3 separate regions of the Homo sapiens genome follow, and regions 1 and 2 are each linked to region 3. The links are contacts of gene promoters, found by promoter capture Hi-C in blood cells and fetal thymus (Javierre and others, 2016). All regions are on one chromosome and are shown on one strand. The core of a region is centred on a gene start or on the middle of the fragment in contact, and the rest is flanking DNA. Distances in the headings are between cores, read along the strand shown. Region 1 overlaps JAM3 (junctional adhesion molecule 3). Region 2 overlaps LINC02730 (long intergenic non-protein coding RNA 2730). Region 3 holds the start of GLB1L3 (galactosidase beta 1 like 3).

What was found. The method cuts DNA at HindIII sites, captures the fragments that hold promoters and counts their contacts. A CHiCAGO score of 5 or more calls a contact.
Region 1: a fragment that was not itself captured here is called in contact with the fragment with the promoter of GLB1L3 in region 3 in 1 of 17 cell types (total B cells); the score reaches 5.8 in total B cells.
Region 2: a fragment that was not itself captured here is called in contact with the fragment with the promoter of GLB1L3 in region 3 in 2 of 17 cell types (activated CD4 T cells and fetal thymus); the score reaches 6.6 in activated CD4 T cells.

Annotation. Positions count from the first base shown.
Region 1 is chr11:134,114,326-134,119,004 of GRCh38, reverse strand. The region is part of intron 1 of JAM3 (junctional adhesion molecule 3); the gene reads right to left. Among named protein-coding and RNA genes, the nearest start is that of SNORD153, 35 kb to the left of the region's middle. The HindIII fragment of the contact is 871 bases long and covers 2,879-3,749 here.
Region 2 is chr11:134,023,422-134,028,098 of GRCh38, reverse strand. LINC02730 (long intergenic non-protein coding RNA 2730) reads right to left here. Exons shown (of 2, transcript NR_186708.1): 2 at 1-416. Among named protein-coding and RNA genes, the nearest start is that of LINC02731, 6.5 kb to the left of the region's middle. RefSeq lists enhancers at 585-1,155, 1,156-1,727, 3,161-3,963. The HindIII fragment of the contact is 3,205 bases long and covers 1-3,131 here.
Region 3 is chr11:134,273,940-134,278,849 of GRCh38, reverse strand. It overlaps GLB1L3 (galactosidase beta 1 like 3), which reads right to left and starts at 2,471. Exons shown (of 20, transcript NM_001080407.3): 1 at 2,087-2,471; 2 at 1,399-1,524; 3 at 938-1,150. The coding sequence starts at 2,109. RefSeq lists a silencer at 2,293-2,362 and enhancers at 2,813-2,862, 3,013-3,142, 3,203-3,312. The HindIII fragment of the contact is 7,995 bases long and covers 633-4,910 here.

The sequences.
Region 1 (4,679 bases), core at 2,065-4,564, 160 kb after region 3:
AAAAGCAAGACTCTGTATCAAAAAAAAAAAAAAAAGATTTCTTGAGCACAAATCTGATTAATCCAGTCAGATAACACCAGAGTAAAACTCCACCTAGCAGCCACCTTAAATAGAAGTGTTCGAAGAAACGGCTAACCTGGAAAGACCGTTAACCAACCCCGCTCTCATCTCCAATTGAAAGGCTTTTAAAGCATAAGTGGAAAGTCCAGGATTATCATGGGGAGGAAATTATTGCCATGTTAATCGAAGCTATGAGGAAAGACAAAAGAGAAAGGGAATGGCTGGGTCTTATATACACTTTCACCATCAAACCACCAAGTAAAAACGTGGATAAAATATCAAAGAAGGAGTGGTGGCAGGGAGAGAGGAGGAAGAGTAAAGGCAGGGTGAAGGCAGCAGAGCAGACAAGGTTGGGGTTGGTGGGAGACAGGCAGGGGGAGGCCAGAGACAAAGAGAGGACAGAGAGGAGGAAGTGAGAATAGCCTGAAGGACAGCACCACTTCCATTGTAGTGGTGCAATGACTTCCCAGTGTTTTCAGTAACTCAGGGAGAACCTGTGCAAAGGAGATGGAACTGTACAGCACTTGGCTTGACTCACCATGGGCTCAGTTCTACACTGAAATAATGGAAATATAAAAATGATGGGTGGAGGGAGGGTCACCATCTTTGCATGAGCCTGGCACTGTTACTTTTTCTAACTGCAGACCAGTCAGACCAATTATAAAATATTCTTGGCTCTAAAGCACAGATGAACACATAAAATCCTCCTGCCTGTTGCCATGAGACCCATCTTAGAGGTACTGAGGCATGACAAATGTGTATGACTAAACACAGAACATGTGTCAAGGCATATTCTTGTTCAGTAAAATAACTCATTTGGAAATACATTATCCCTAATATTTGCCCTGAGCATAAGACCTTGGCATGAAGCTACTTTCTGTGTGAGCCCAGTCCCATAAACACTATTTGCATGTGATTACAGATTCTGGTATCAGAATTCCAAGAGAGGAATGTGTGCTCTCATATGCTACAAAAAAATAATTCAAAGTTACACCTGCATTCCAACTGCAGACATTCTGCATTAACCCCCATCCAGTATAGCCTCTTTAGGGCTCACAGTACCCTTCGGAGGTACATGGAACTAGCCTTCACTGTTATCTTGAAGACAGTGCAGGAGTGATCACCCTTCTTCAGAATCTGAATGGATGAGCTACTTCAGGAACCGAACTTGAAAATATAAGGGAATCTCACCTATCAAAGACCATTGCATGGAAGACAGGGACCAGTTATTCGTTTGCTTTGTTTCACTCCACTGTCATATCCCACTGTCATATCAACAAGAGGAAACATATTCAAGCTGCAAAACCTGGGCTTTAGGTTTAACATGTTAAAGGAAAAATAAATATGCTATAAAATATTCCAGTGGTAACTGGGATGCTGAAGGAAAGTGGAAGGGGTGGTGGTATTTACAAAACAGTTGAATTCTGAGATGTTCACATCAGTTTTACTGCAGTCTCTCCTGAGGTAGAACAGACTGCAAACTACCAAATATTTCTCTCTAATAAGGGAAGACATCAAGACAGCTTTACTTCTTCCCCGCCAATTTGGATTGTTTTTCTTTTTTTGAGATGGAGTTTTTTGCTCTTGTCGCCCAGGCTGGAGTGCAATGGTGTGATCTCAGCTCAGTGCAACCTCCGCCTCCCGGGTTCAAGCAATTCTTCTGCCTCAGCCTCCTGAGTAGCTGGGATTACAGGTGCCCACCACCATCCCCGGTTATTTTATTTTATTTTATTTTTTGTACTTTTAGTAGAGACAGGGTTTCACCATCTCAGCCAGGCTGGTCTCAAACTCCTGACCTCAGATGATCCACCCACCTCAGCCTCCCAAAGTGCTGGGATTACAGGCATGAGCCACTGTGCCTGGCCGTGGATTGTTTTTTTTTTAAGTTTCTTTTTCATGCCTGGTTGTATTGGCTAGAACCTCCAATATGGTGTTGAGTAGAAATGGTGTGAGCAGATATCCTTGTCTTGGTTAAACAAATAACTATAAATACGTTGTAGGTAATGACAGCCAAGTTTCTCACATCAAAGAATGAATATGCAAGGGGAAAATGCTAGAATTAACCCTGTAGTGCTGAATTTGAGTCAGACATACCACTATAAACTAATGTTTATTTTAACATAGATACAAATAGAGAAATAGTATAGATATGTGTGTATACGTGGATATAAATACATGTATCTCCTAGCCCTGTTCACCGAGAGCCTAGAAGCAGTGACACCTGATAACCAAAAGCATTTCTAGTACCCAGGTCTAGTTTCCCATATACCATTCTCTAGTAAAAAGAATCAGGGCTCCCTGAAAAATGGCTGATTCTAGGACAGGGAAAATACAAGATAAGCCTGGAGCACCCTGTAGTGTCAGAGAGCAAGAAAGTGCTAAAAAACAAACAACGACAAAAAATCCCAGCCACCTGAAAGAGCTTCCAGTGGCCAAAGCTGGAAGATTTTAAGAAAAAAAATTATGATACTATTGGATTATAATACAAAGAATACAATACCCATAAATCCACACTAATATGCATAAATGATGAATAAGCAAATAAATGAGAGACAGAGGCCAAATTTTCTTTACAGGAGAATTACAATGAACAAATGTAGAAAGAATAAGGGAAATAGGAAATAATCATTAGAACACCATAGTAATAACTGCTATAGGGAACATCCACTAATGACTGCCAATATTCATGAAAAAACTTTATCAGAATACTTGAATAGCCTCATAACATCTTATCCACCGAAATATTTATTAATTATTATGGTAATTTTAGCATACATCCACAAATTATCTGATTCTCCTCCCTCCAGGAAGTGAAGCTTAATTTCCATCTCCTTGAGTGTGGGCTGAACTCCTAAAAAATAGAAAGGGAAAAAGAAACATACTAACTTTACAGTGGAGAAACCTTGTAGACACCACCTAAACCTAGTGATCAGGGTAGCAATACCAGCAACATGTCATGATGATATTATATACCCTTTGATATGATGAGAAGGGCACTGCACTTTTATGGTATCTATCCCCTCCTCCAATTTTTTATTTATTTATTTTGAGACATGGTCTCATTCTGTCACCCAGGCTTGAGTGTAGTGGCGCAATCATGGCTTACTGCAGCCTCAAACTCCTGGACTCAAACCATCTTCCCACCTTGGCTTTCTGAGTAGCTGGGACTACAGGTGTGTGCCACTATGCCTTGCTAATTTTTTTTTTTAAGAGACAGGATCTCACATGTTACCCAGGCTGGTCTCAAACTCCTGGGCTCAAGTAATCTTCCCACCTCATTCTCCAAAAGTGCTGGGATTACAGGCATTAGCCGCACAGCACCTGACCCCCTCCCCCAATCTATAAACCAAGTCTAATCATGAGAAAACATCAGATAAACTCAAATTGAAGACTTTCTGCAAAACACCTAACCACTACTCTTTAAATATATCAAGGTCATAAGTTATAGCTAATAAACCAACAAAAAAGACCAAACAAAGTTACCCAATAGAAAAGAAGGCATAAAAAGAACAAAAGAACAAAGAACAGATGAAACAAAGGAAAACAAATGCAAGAGAAAAGACTTAAACCTAACTATATCAGTAAACGCAATGTAAATAGTCTAAACATCCCAATTAAATGGCATATATTGTTAGATTAGATTTTCTCCTAAAAAAGCAAGGCAACTTTAAATATAAAGATACAAAGCTTCAAAATAAAAGGATGAAAAAAGATATACTAAGTTAACACTAGCCAAAAGAAAAGTGGAGTGGCTATATTAGTATCAAAGTATATTTCAGAGCAAAGAATATTACCAGGGATAAAAAAGGTTAGTTCATAATGATAAAGGAAGTCATTTCATAACAATAAATTTAAAAATCGATAAAGAGGTCAATTCATCAAAAGAACATAAAAATTCTAAACATGTATGTACCTAGTAACAGAGCTTCAAAATATATTATGCAAAAACTGAAAAGAACTGCAAGGAGAAATAAACAAATCCATAGGATTCTTTGTTCGAGATTTCAACACTACTCTCAATAGCAGAACAAGTGGACAGAAAATCAGTAAGAATGCTGATTTTTAAAAATTCTATCGACTAACTTGACCTACTTCACATTTATAGAACACCTAACCCAAAGACAGCAGAATACATATTTTTGACAAGTGCAAATGGGACATTTACCAAGGTAGACCATATTCCGAGCCATAAAACAAATCACAATACGTTTTAAAAGATTCAAGTCATACAAAGTTTGTTTTCTGACCACAGTGAAATTAAAATAGAGATCAGTACAGAAAGGCATCTGAAAAATCCTAATGTTTGGAAACTAACACATTTCTCAATAATCTGTAAGTCAAAGAAGAATCAAAAGGGAAATTAAAAAGTGTTTTAGCTTGGTCCTGGTACCAAAAGAGAGATAGAGACCAATGGAACACAACAGAGCCCTCAGAAATAATACCACACATCTACAACCATCTGATCTTTGACAAACCTGACAAAAACAAGAAATGGGGAAAGGATTCCCTATTTAATAAATGGTGCTGGGAAAACTGGCTAGCCATATGTAGAAAGCTGAAACTGGATCCGTTCCTCACACCTTATACAAAAATTAATTCAAGATGGATTAAAGACTTAA
Region 2 (4,677 bases), core at 280-2,779, 250 kb after region 3:
GTTCAGTGTGTTCTTTGAGGGACCTCTTCCTTATGGGAGCTTCTTGGGAGTCACCACCAGGCACAGAGAGCTCTGGGTTGCAGATGAGATCCTTCTGTTATCTTCATATGTTTCTAAAGCAGCTATGCAGAGTGATCACCACAGTAGACGTGGGGTTCTAAAGAAAGGCGGCTGCTTGAAGGACAGGTGTGGCAGGAAGTGCGGCTAGGGAGGGGCCCCACACTGAGGGGCTTGCTCTAGACTTGAGAGGCTAATAGGCCACATCTACACAGCCGTGGGCCCTTCTGCTGTCTCTGGCACAGCAGGAAGAGATGGGATTTGCAGGCAGACAGGTGCAAGTTCAAATCTCAGCTTCATCACTTTCTGCTGCATGTCTCTGGGCAAGGGGTTTGACCTTGAAGCCTCCATTTCCTCATCTGTGAAAAGAGGACAATACTTCACTCAGGTACTTAATCTCACTTTGAAGATGACGTTGAGATAGGTACAATGTTTAATCTCCACTCAATAAATGGTCCCACGGACAGTGCTTCCAAGGACAGTCCTTTCAGATGGCAATAGTGCTAAACAGTACCTACAACCAGATGGGTGGTCTTGAGCTGAAGGCAAGACCTTAACTGCTTCATTCACCTCTGACTTCATCTGTCTTTTAGCTTTGTTTAAATTAGGCCCAGGAGTCATTCCCTCCCAATCTCTCACCCTTAGGAACCCTCCCATTCGTGCCCAGTCTCTCACCTTTTTACGCACCCTATCAGCCTGAGGAAAAATCCAGTTAGTTACCACATCTAGAAGTGACCAAGTGTCACCTGGCTGCTGGCTTACCTGGGATGTAACCAGTACTTCTCCTTTCTAGGATGGCTCTTGGGCAAGTAGCTGAGGCTCACAGGCAGAGGTCTTTGGGAGAGGCATGGCCATCTCTGTGTTCTGAGCTGCTTCTCCAGCAGCCAGGCCCTCTGTTAGGGAGCTGGCCCAGACCCCCTCCCTGGCCTCTCAGACCCCCCAGGGTGCCTGCCCAGTGTGGGGCGCATGACCCACCTTTTGCCCTTTGTGCTCCTTTGTCCACTCACCACAGACCCTTTCACACCTCAGTTAGCCACTTAGGGAGACAAAGCGCTAGTGCGAGTAGGGGAAGCTGTCCAGACCGAGATGAATGGCTCCGAAGCCTGCTGTTGCCATGGCAGCCAGCTGGGAACACCGTTTCCAGGGCCCAAGGTGCTCAGACATGCATGGGGGGTGCTGCCCTGCTGGGTTGCTGCCCACTCTCCGGCCCCCACCCTGCATTCTCAGCTTCCTTAGCAACAGCTGATGCTGTTGCCACCACCGCTGCAGCTTCGGCCCTGGCCCGGGGCAGTGTGAGGGAAGCCAGGATCGGGGGCTGGTGTAGGAGTGTGTGGGAGGGCAGAGCCTAGGTATGAAGTTGGAGAGGAAAAGGAAAGGAAAGACTTGGCAATTTTCCCCATGATACTAGTGATAAGATTATAAGGATGTTTCCTAATTATACAGAAAAGAGGCTCATAAACTTAGGCTCCAACGGACCCCTTTGTGATCTGGTGATCACCTCAACTTGTAAGAGCATGCCTGTGTCCCTGGGTATATGTGAATTTTTCTGAAACAATGGTTTATAGTTTTTATCAGATTTTTCAAAGATGACTAAGGTCCCCAATAGGTAAGAACCTTAATTAGAGACATTTTGCTTTTTAGAATCAGAATGATCTCAGGGACTGGTTGGCCAGGTTGATTTGAGAGATATGCTTACAAAGAGGAATGAATACGACACAGGGCGGGGAGTGGGGCAGGTGGCGTGCTTCCCTGTGCCTGCCCCAACCAAGAGTCCCCAGGATCTAGCATCTGCCTTGCTGTGGACCTCTAGGACTAGGGGACGGGGAATCTTCCTCCTAACACGGTCCATCCTTCGCAGCCCCTGTCCTCTTGCAGCTTTGTCCTGGGGGCCGAGTGTGCTATTAGCTTGTGCTCCCTCCATGCTGGGCCAGAGCTCAGTGTTTTATATACTCTGTTCTCACGATCCCATCTAACCCCCACACAGCACTGTGGGGAGGGTGGTCTCACCCCTGCCATTGAAAAGATGAGAGTATTGGAATGATAAGAAAACTTCCGTGACTTGTCCAAGTTCGTGCCGTTAGAAGTTGGAGAAGCCCCAGGTAGCTTAGAGGAGTGGTGAAGAGTCCGGCCCTGGGCCAGAGTCAGATGAGAGCTGCAGCCCTTATGAGCTAGGGGACCCCGGCCTCTACTCTCAAAGCTGCAAATTAAGGATCCTGATAACTCCCGCCGCAGAGGACAGTGGTGGGAGTTAAATGAGTTGAAACGGTTTGCGAAGTGCATAGGACAGTATCTACCACTAGATAAAAAGTGGAATTAGAATAGCATTCAGCCATGAGTCTGCCTAATTCTAAAGCTCATACAGAGAGGACTTTTGTGGGGGAGGGCTTCTGACCCTAATGCCAGAGCTGGGTTATGGCATAATAGTCACGCATTGCCACTTACTAATTGAGTGTGGGTGGGCTACGTGCATGTTTCAGGCCTCAGCTTTCTTACCTCTAGGGAACACCATGTTCTATAGAGGATGATTGTATAGTGAGCACTATTGATTACGTAAAGATCAAATGAAACAACGTCGGGAAAGTTCTTGGTAAACTGTGCCATATACTACAGCAATGCACTCAGTGCCCTGGCACTGAGGCCCGGCTCGTGCCCCAAGAATCGGGAAAGTTCTTGGTAAACTGTGCCATATACTACAGCAATGCACTCAGTACCCTGGCACTGAGGCCCGGCTCGTGCCCCACGGGGCTGTGTGCCCTTCCCTTGGCTGGCAGCTCAGGGCAGGGAGCCCAGTGTGATACCCGCTGAGGAGGGAGATGGCATAATGCCCTTGGGTGCCCATGTGCCCGGGTCAGCAGCCAAGAGCAGGATGCTTAGGAATTCCACCGAGGCAGCTGGGCCCCGGCTTCATTGGCAGGGGCAGAAGGGAGGCAGGTGTGAGGGAGGCCAGAGCGGGGCTCGAGGAAAAGAGGCTGGGTGGGCCATGGAACACTTTCCAAGGGGTGTCACAGAGCCACGCCAAGTGTGTGTCACCCTTCTCTATGAGGATGTGTGATTAGTGGAAATGAGAACAAGCTTTATTAGTCACTGCTGAGGAGAAACACCACGAAGAATTATCCAACCTGCTAATGGAAGGGTGCACAGGCCTCTGTAGGCTGCTGGAAGGGAGGAGTTTCATGTCCTCTTTTCTTTTTGCCCCCAGAAGACTCATGTTGCTGAGAGCAGATGGTGAGGGGGAAGAGGGTGGGTCCTCATCCTTGAGTCATTTGCTGCCGGGGTACCTTTTTGGGGCTCTGGGAAGTACAGCAAGCATGTTGGACGGATAGGCAGCCTGTTTGCAGGGGGGCGAGGGTCGGCCCGAGGAGGCGCCGCTGGGAATGACTCGTGCCCAGTCAGAAGCTGTAATTGGAGGTGATTAATCTGTGGAGGACAGCGTGGGGAGTCAGCGCTGACTCAGGACCCAGGCGGGCCGCTCCCCTCTCCCACTTCACCTGCCTCAGGCGGCAGAGGGAGGCTGCTTGGAAAGGCTAATGATTCAGAGGCCCTTAAAACAGAAGGATGAGCAGCTGAGGCTCCAGATCAAAGATGTTTTAACCCTTTAATGGTCCAGTGGTAATGTGAAGAGGTTGAGGGTCTTCCCTCGGAGTCGGGGCCCTGGACACGCGAAGCACTTATTTTATTTATTTATTTTTTTGAGACGAAGACTCGCTCTGTAGCCCAGGCTGGAGTGCAGTGGTGCAATCTCGGTTCACTGCAACTTCTGCCTCCCAGGTTCAAGCAATTCTCATGCCTTAGCCTCCTGAGTAGCTAGGACTAGAGGCGTGCACCACCACGCCCAGCTAATTTTTGTATTTTTAGTAGAGACGGGATTTTGCCATGTTGGCCAGGCTGGTCTCGAACCCCTGACCTCAGGGACCCCCCTGCCTCGGCGTCCCAAAGTGCTGAGATTACAGGTGTGAGTAACTGCGCCCAGCCCCACTCAAAGCACTTCCGATGCACCCCATCAGAAGTGGGGGTCAGGAGCTCCTCCACTGCAAGATACTAAGCTAAGGCTTTCTAGTTAAGGGGACCTAGATTTCAGCCCCAAGTAGGCACTCCCCAGCTCTGGCAAGCGGCTCAACCTCTCCAAGTCTGTACAATGAGGACAAAACTACCTACTTCATGGGGACTCAAAGAGATAGTGTTTGTGAAATGTTAGCAGAGCCGGGACTAGACCTGGGATGGGAGCAACCAACGCCTCATCCTGGGAGAGGCCACACTGAGCATGTGTTTTAAAAGAGGCTGCATTCACATTTTTCACCTCTCTTCTATATTCCAAAGATAAGCAAGAAGACCTGGGTCAGAAGAGCCAGCGTGAGTCACGCACAGCTGTCACCAGGGACAGTAAGATGGGTGAAATGAAGATGCAAATCACCAAATATTATTTTACCTATACACACACACACACACACACACACACACACACACACACACACACACACATACAGGTAGTCTAAAATTGTACACAATATACACAGTAAATATTTAATTAAAGAGGCTGTTTTCCTATTGGTAACTGACCTTACACCTTGGGGGAAGGTGCCCAGGTACACATACCTTGAAAACGCCCAATGGCTTTTGAGG
Region 3 (4,910 bases), core at 1,222-3,721:
AATACATGCAGTAGCAGCTCTCAATAAAACTCAACGATTATTTCTGATTAAATTCTTTGCATTTTAAATGAACCAGTTTACTGCCTCTCAGCTTCAAATTCACCCTTCAATACCAGCTCTGCAATAAGGCACAGGGCCCTCTAAGCATCTTCTCCTTTACAGTGAGTGTGATGGTAAGCTTGCCACAAAATGGTGGTGGCAGGCCCTCAGGAGGACAGGGCCTCTGATTCTGGAGCAGTTTTGCTTTTTTGTGGTCATACAGGGTGGCTGGTCAGTTGTATACAGGCATGAGGACGACCGTGGTGTTCCCTTTTAAAGGGTGAACTGCTTGAGTCCAGGAGTTTGAGACCAGCCCAGGCAACATGGCGAAACTCCATCTCTACAAACAATTCAAAAAATTAGCCTGGTGTGGTGGCATGCACCTGTGGCCCCAGCTGTTCAGGAGGCTGAGGCAGGAGGATCACCTGAGCCAGAGAAGTAGAAGCTGCCGTGAGCTAAGATCGGGCCACTGCACTCCAGCCTGAGCAACAAACAGAACAACAAACTGTGTCTCAAAAAAAAAAATTTTTTTTTGTTTTAAAAACATGCATGTATCTGTAAGTACATATTTATCTGTAAGTGTGCCTTAAGCTTATGTCATTAAACTGAGTGCTCCCAAGGGCGCCTGGTGTTCCTTCATTAGACAGACAGAATCCTGAGGAAATAACCTCCTCCCTTGAGATTCTCCCACTAACCCCTATCCAAGTCTTTGATCACAGAGCAAACTCAGCATGAGACTAAGTGACAGCTGGACGCTTAAGCATTAAATGTATGTGCTGGAAACGACTGTGCGGAAGGTAAGTCCTCACGCTGGGCCCCCAAAATCGGAGGCTCAGGTTCCCGGCCAGGATGCACTTGTAGGGTAACGAGATCCTGGAGGTGAGGGGCCGGCACTCACGTGGTGACAGTATTGAAGCCACAGGCCTTCAGCTTCAGCAGGCGGTCCCTCCAGTACTCCCTGGGCACCCGGAAATAGTGGATGGAGCCCCCGAAGATCAGGAACTTGTGGCCCTCCAGTGTGAAGTGGGGCTTACCCCGACCTGTGCTTTCAGTTCCAAGTCCCACAGATCGATTCTTCAGCTCCAGAGGGGTCAGATGAGACCAATTAAACCTGGAGGGGGCGGGCGAGGGAAAGAAAGTGGAAAGGGAGAGAGGATTCGGGAGAGGGCTCGGAGGCACGGCTGAAACCCTAGCGAAAAGAAGTTTTTGTTAGTAGGACGTGTTCTGTGCATATGTTAGTAGGACGTGTTCTGTGCATATGTTAGTAGGACGTGTTCTGTGCATATTCGCGATACTATTTTCTCCAAGAAAGGAGAGATCGCTCCCCTCCCTCCCCAGGGATGTAGCTCTCAAGCAAACCTAGGCTGGGACGGATGCGCTCTTCCAAGCATGAAGTTCTCTTCCTGCTTAAACCGAGGAGCAAAACCTGATGAGATAAATGGCAGGAAAAAGATGCCCGCCATTCTCTTCCAGGAGAGACACGGGCTGAAAGGAGAAAGGACAACAGTGACAAGGGGAAGGTTCCGGCCCCACCGGGCTGCAAGGGCCGGGAAGCTGTGCCGGGGGCGCTTTAGAGGCCAGAGCCAGGGAGGGGGCCCGCGACACAGGCGGGTCTTCCAGGCGGGCCCAGGGCCAGGACAGCGCGGCATCACCCGGCCAGTCCTCTGCAGCCAGGATGAAGGCCGGGGACAGACGTTCAGTCCTAGACCCTCCAGACAGGGCTGGGCAGTGCCGGTGGGTGCCTGGGAGAGGCGGAGGCGGGCGCACTTCCAGCACCAGGTTCGGGAAGGACACGGTGCCCAGCCGCTGGAGCCCCTGGCCTGCGTGCCCCACCCTGATTTTCTGGCATCTGGTGAACGGCCCCTCCGCAGGGTGGGGGTAGCCAGGGGATCTGCCGAGGAAAGCTGGGGACAGCGGGCTTGGTGGCGCGGCCCGGCGCGGCGCGTGCCTGGGGCGCGTGGCCGGCCACAGAACCCGGGGAGGGTGGAGGCTCCCGGGCACGCGCCGGGGTGGTGGGCAGCCCGGGACGGCAGCGGCGATCCGTCACCTGAGGAGGGGCGGGGACTTCATCGCGGCCAGGCCGAGGCGCCGAGGGTCCCTTGCGGCTTCCGCCCCTCTCCGCTGGCCCCGACGCCGCGCTCGGGCCGGGACTCGAGCCCCGGTTCCGCGGGGCAGGCTCAGGTCTGCGCGCTGCGCCTGCAGCCGAGGCAGAAATCCGTCCCGAGGCGCGGGCGCCGGGTCCGGGTCCCAAGGATGCGCGTCGGGCTCCCTCCCGCGGGGACAGCCGAGCTCCGCCGGCGCTCCAGGTGTTCCCGCAGTGCGTCCGGGCGCGGACGCCTCTCTGCCCTCGGAGGGGAAGCGGGAGGGCCCTTGGGGTAACGCCCCGACCTCGGGCTTCCTAACCTGGGTCGACAGCCGGCTGGCACAGGGAGGCCTGCGCGGGAGAGGGGCGGAGAGAGCGCAGCGCGGGGCACAGCGGGCGGTCTCCGTGCCGCGCGCGCGACTGGAAACGGCGTGCAGATCCTAAAACGAGGGTTCCACAGAGGGCCACGAGGGGCAGGAGAGAGTCCCCGGAGAACTCTAGCTCCCCGACACGGCTACCTCTTGGCAAACGAGCGAGAATTGGGGCGCAGAGCCTTGGGAGGGCCGTTCCCTCGGCGGGAGCGGCCCGAGCACAGCCTCACAGCAGATGCGAGCGCGGCGGGCGCTTTGGTGACGAAGTAGCGGGACCTGCAGGAGGCAGAGGCCTGGTGGGGCCGTGGACGCCACGCCGAGCTGCCCAGACCCTTCCAGAAGACAGTGGGGACTATTCAACGGTTTCCAGCAGAAACTAAGCCAGGTGTTCGTTTTACGGAGATTGCTCGGCTGCAGGGTGGAGGCTGGATGAGAACAGGCGTCCTCTCAGGTAGGCGCTCGTGGTGGTAACGCTGCCCAGGAGGAGGGCACGGGTTCCGGGAAGACTTGCGAGGTTAAACCGGCAGCTCCGGAGAACTGAGCGCAAGAGGTCGGTGACACAGAGAGGAGTCCGGGAGGCCGCATGTTTCAGGCTGAAGTCACTTGGCGGGGACGTTTATTGAGATGCGAAACACAGGAAGGGATAGAGGCTGCGCAGAGGGAAAAGGCGATGGACTCGGTTTTGGAAACGCTGATGTGAAGTCCCTACGATGAAAAAAGAAATCTTCCGATTTCTCCCTTTGAAGTCTTTGCTTCTTCCGTTGCAAAGAACACAGCCTATGACATCAGGTTGAAACCAAGAATGTAGTTCTCTGAAAATACTGTGTGTGGGGGAGGGAGTTTATCTTGTCTCATTCCTTACAAGGATACTTTGCTCTCCGACACCTTAGCTCCCTGAAAGTTTCCTAGATCGTCCATCTTTTCCTCATTTTTTCGACTGCAAGCAATGAACTGTTAATTTTTTACAGTTTGGTTTTACAGCCACACACTTTATTCTTCTTTGTCAAGTTTAAAGTATTCTAGGGCTTGTGCCTTCCCACATAAAATTTAGAATAAACTTGTCTGTTTCTACAAAAAGCCATGTTGGTATTTCGAGAGGAATTGCAATCAACCTATGGATCAAATTGAGAATTGTATCCTTATTATGTTGAATCTTCCAACCCACGAACATGGTATGTCTGTCTATTTAAATAGTTTTTTTTTTTTCACTTCTTTCATCAGAATTGTGTGATTTTTTCAACATCAGATCCTATCACGTTTTGTTAGGTTTATACTTAAATATTTCCTTTGCTCTCAAGAGATTTAAACTGTTATTATTTTTATTTCAGTTTTTACATGTTTGTTGTTAGCATACAGAAATGTGATTGTGTTTCTCATGTTGATCTCATATCCTGTGACCTTGGCAAACTCACCTATTAATTTTAAGAGGTTATTTGTGTATTACTTGGCATTTTCCATGTAGATAATCATGTCATCTGCAAATATGGAGAGTTTTATTTCTACCTTTCCAGTCTGCGTGGCTTTTTATTCCTTTTTTTGTGTGTCTTAGTATGATGACTAAAATTTCTGTGTTGAATAAGAGCGGCAGGAACTGACACTGTTACCTTGTCCCCAGTGTCAGCTGGAAAACATTCTGTTTTTCACTATTAAGTATGATGACAGCTATAGGTTTTGTGTACATATTCTCTATCAAGTTGAAAGAGTTTGACAGCTGGGCCTGCAGTCACTAGAAATGCTGTGGTGCTTTATTGGAACAAGCTATGTATCAAGAATTGTGATTTTCTGCAGGCGTTGCTGGAGGAATTTTGACAAAGGTAGAAGAATCAAATAATGGATTATTGGTTCATTTGAAAGATGACATATCCTGTGTCCTTTTGCCATCTGGGGCTCCCCTCTGCTGATGGAGTATTTGAGAACCTCTATGAAGGAGCCCTGGAGAGTGAAAGTTCCCCCAGATTTCTGTGCTCATTAAACCTGTAGAACTCTTGAAAATGTGCAAGGTGAAGTAACAATTTTGATCAAACAAAGCTGTCAGTTTCTGTCTTGAGATTACAGAAGTAACTCTACAAGGCCAACATCCCAAGCACAGGAAAGACCAGCCACTAGGGCCGCAGACCCAGCATCCTGGTACAATTTATTAAAAAAAAAAAAAAAAATCAATATTTTTCCCTTCAGTTTCCATCCAGATAACTGATAATGAAACAAAGAGCTAATTTCCCAAAGCAGGCAGAAAGCATCAAAAAGCTCCCAGAGCTGAGTGTGCAAACTTCCTGTGCCAGTGCTTTGATGTTAATAAAGCACAATTCCTGCTCCTAAATTGCTCTCTTGTAAGAACAGCAGCTTCCAGAAAAAGAAGGCAGCACTTTCTGTTGCTTTAGTAGTGGACAACCCTATAGGAGTTAATGTATGAACCAGAA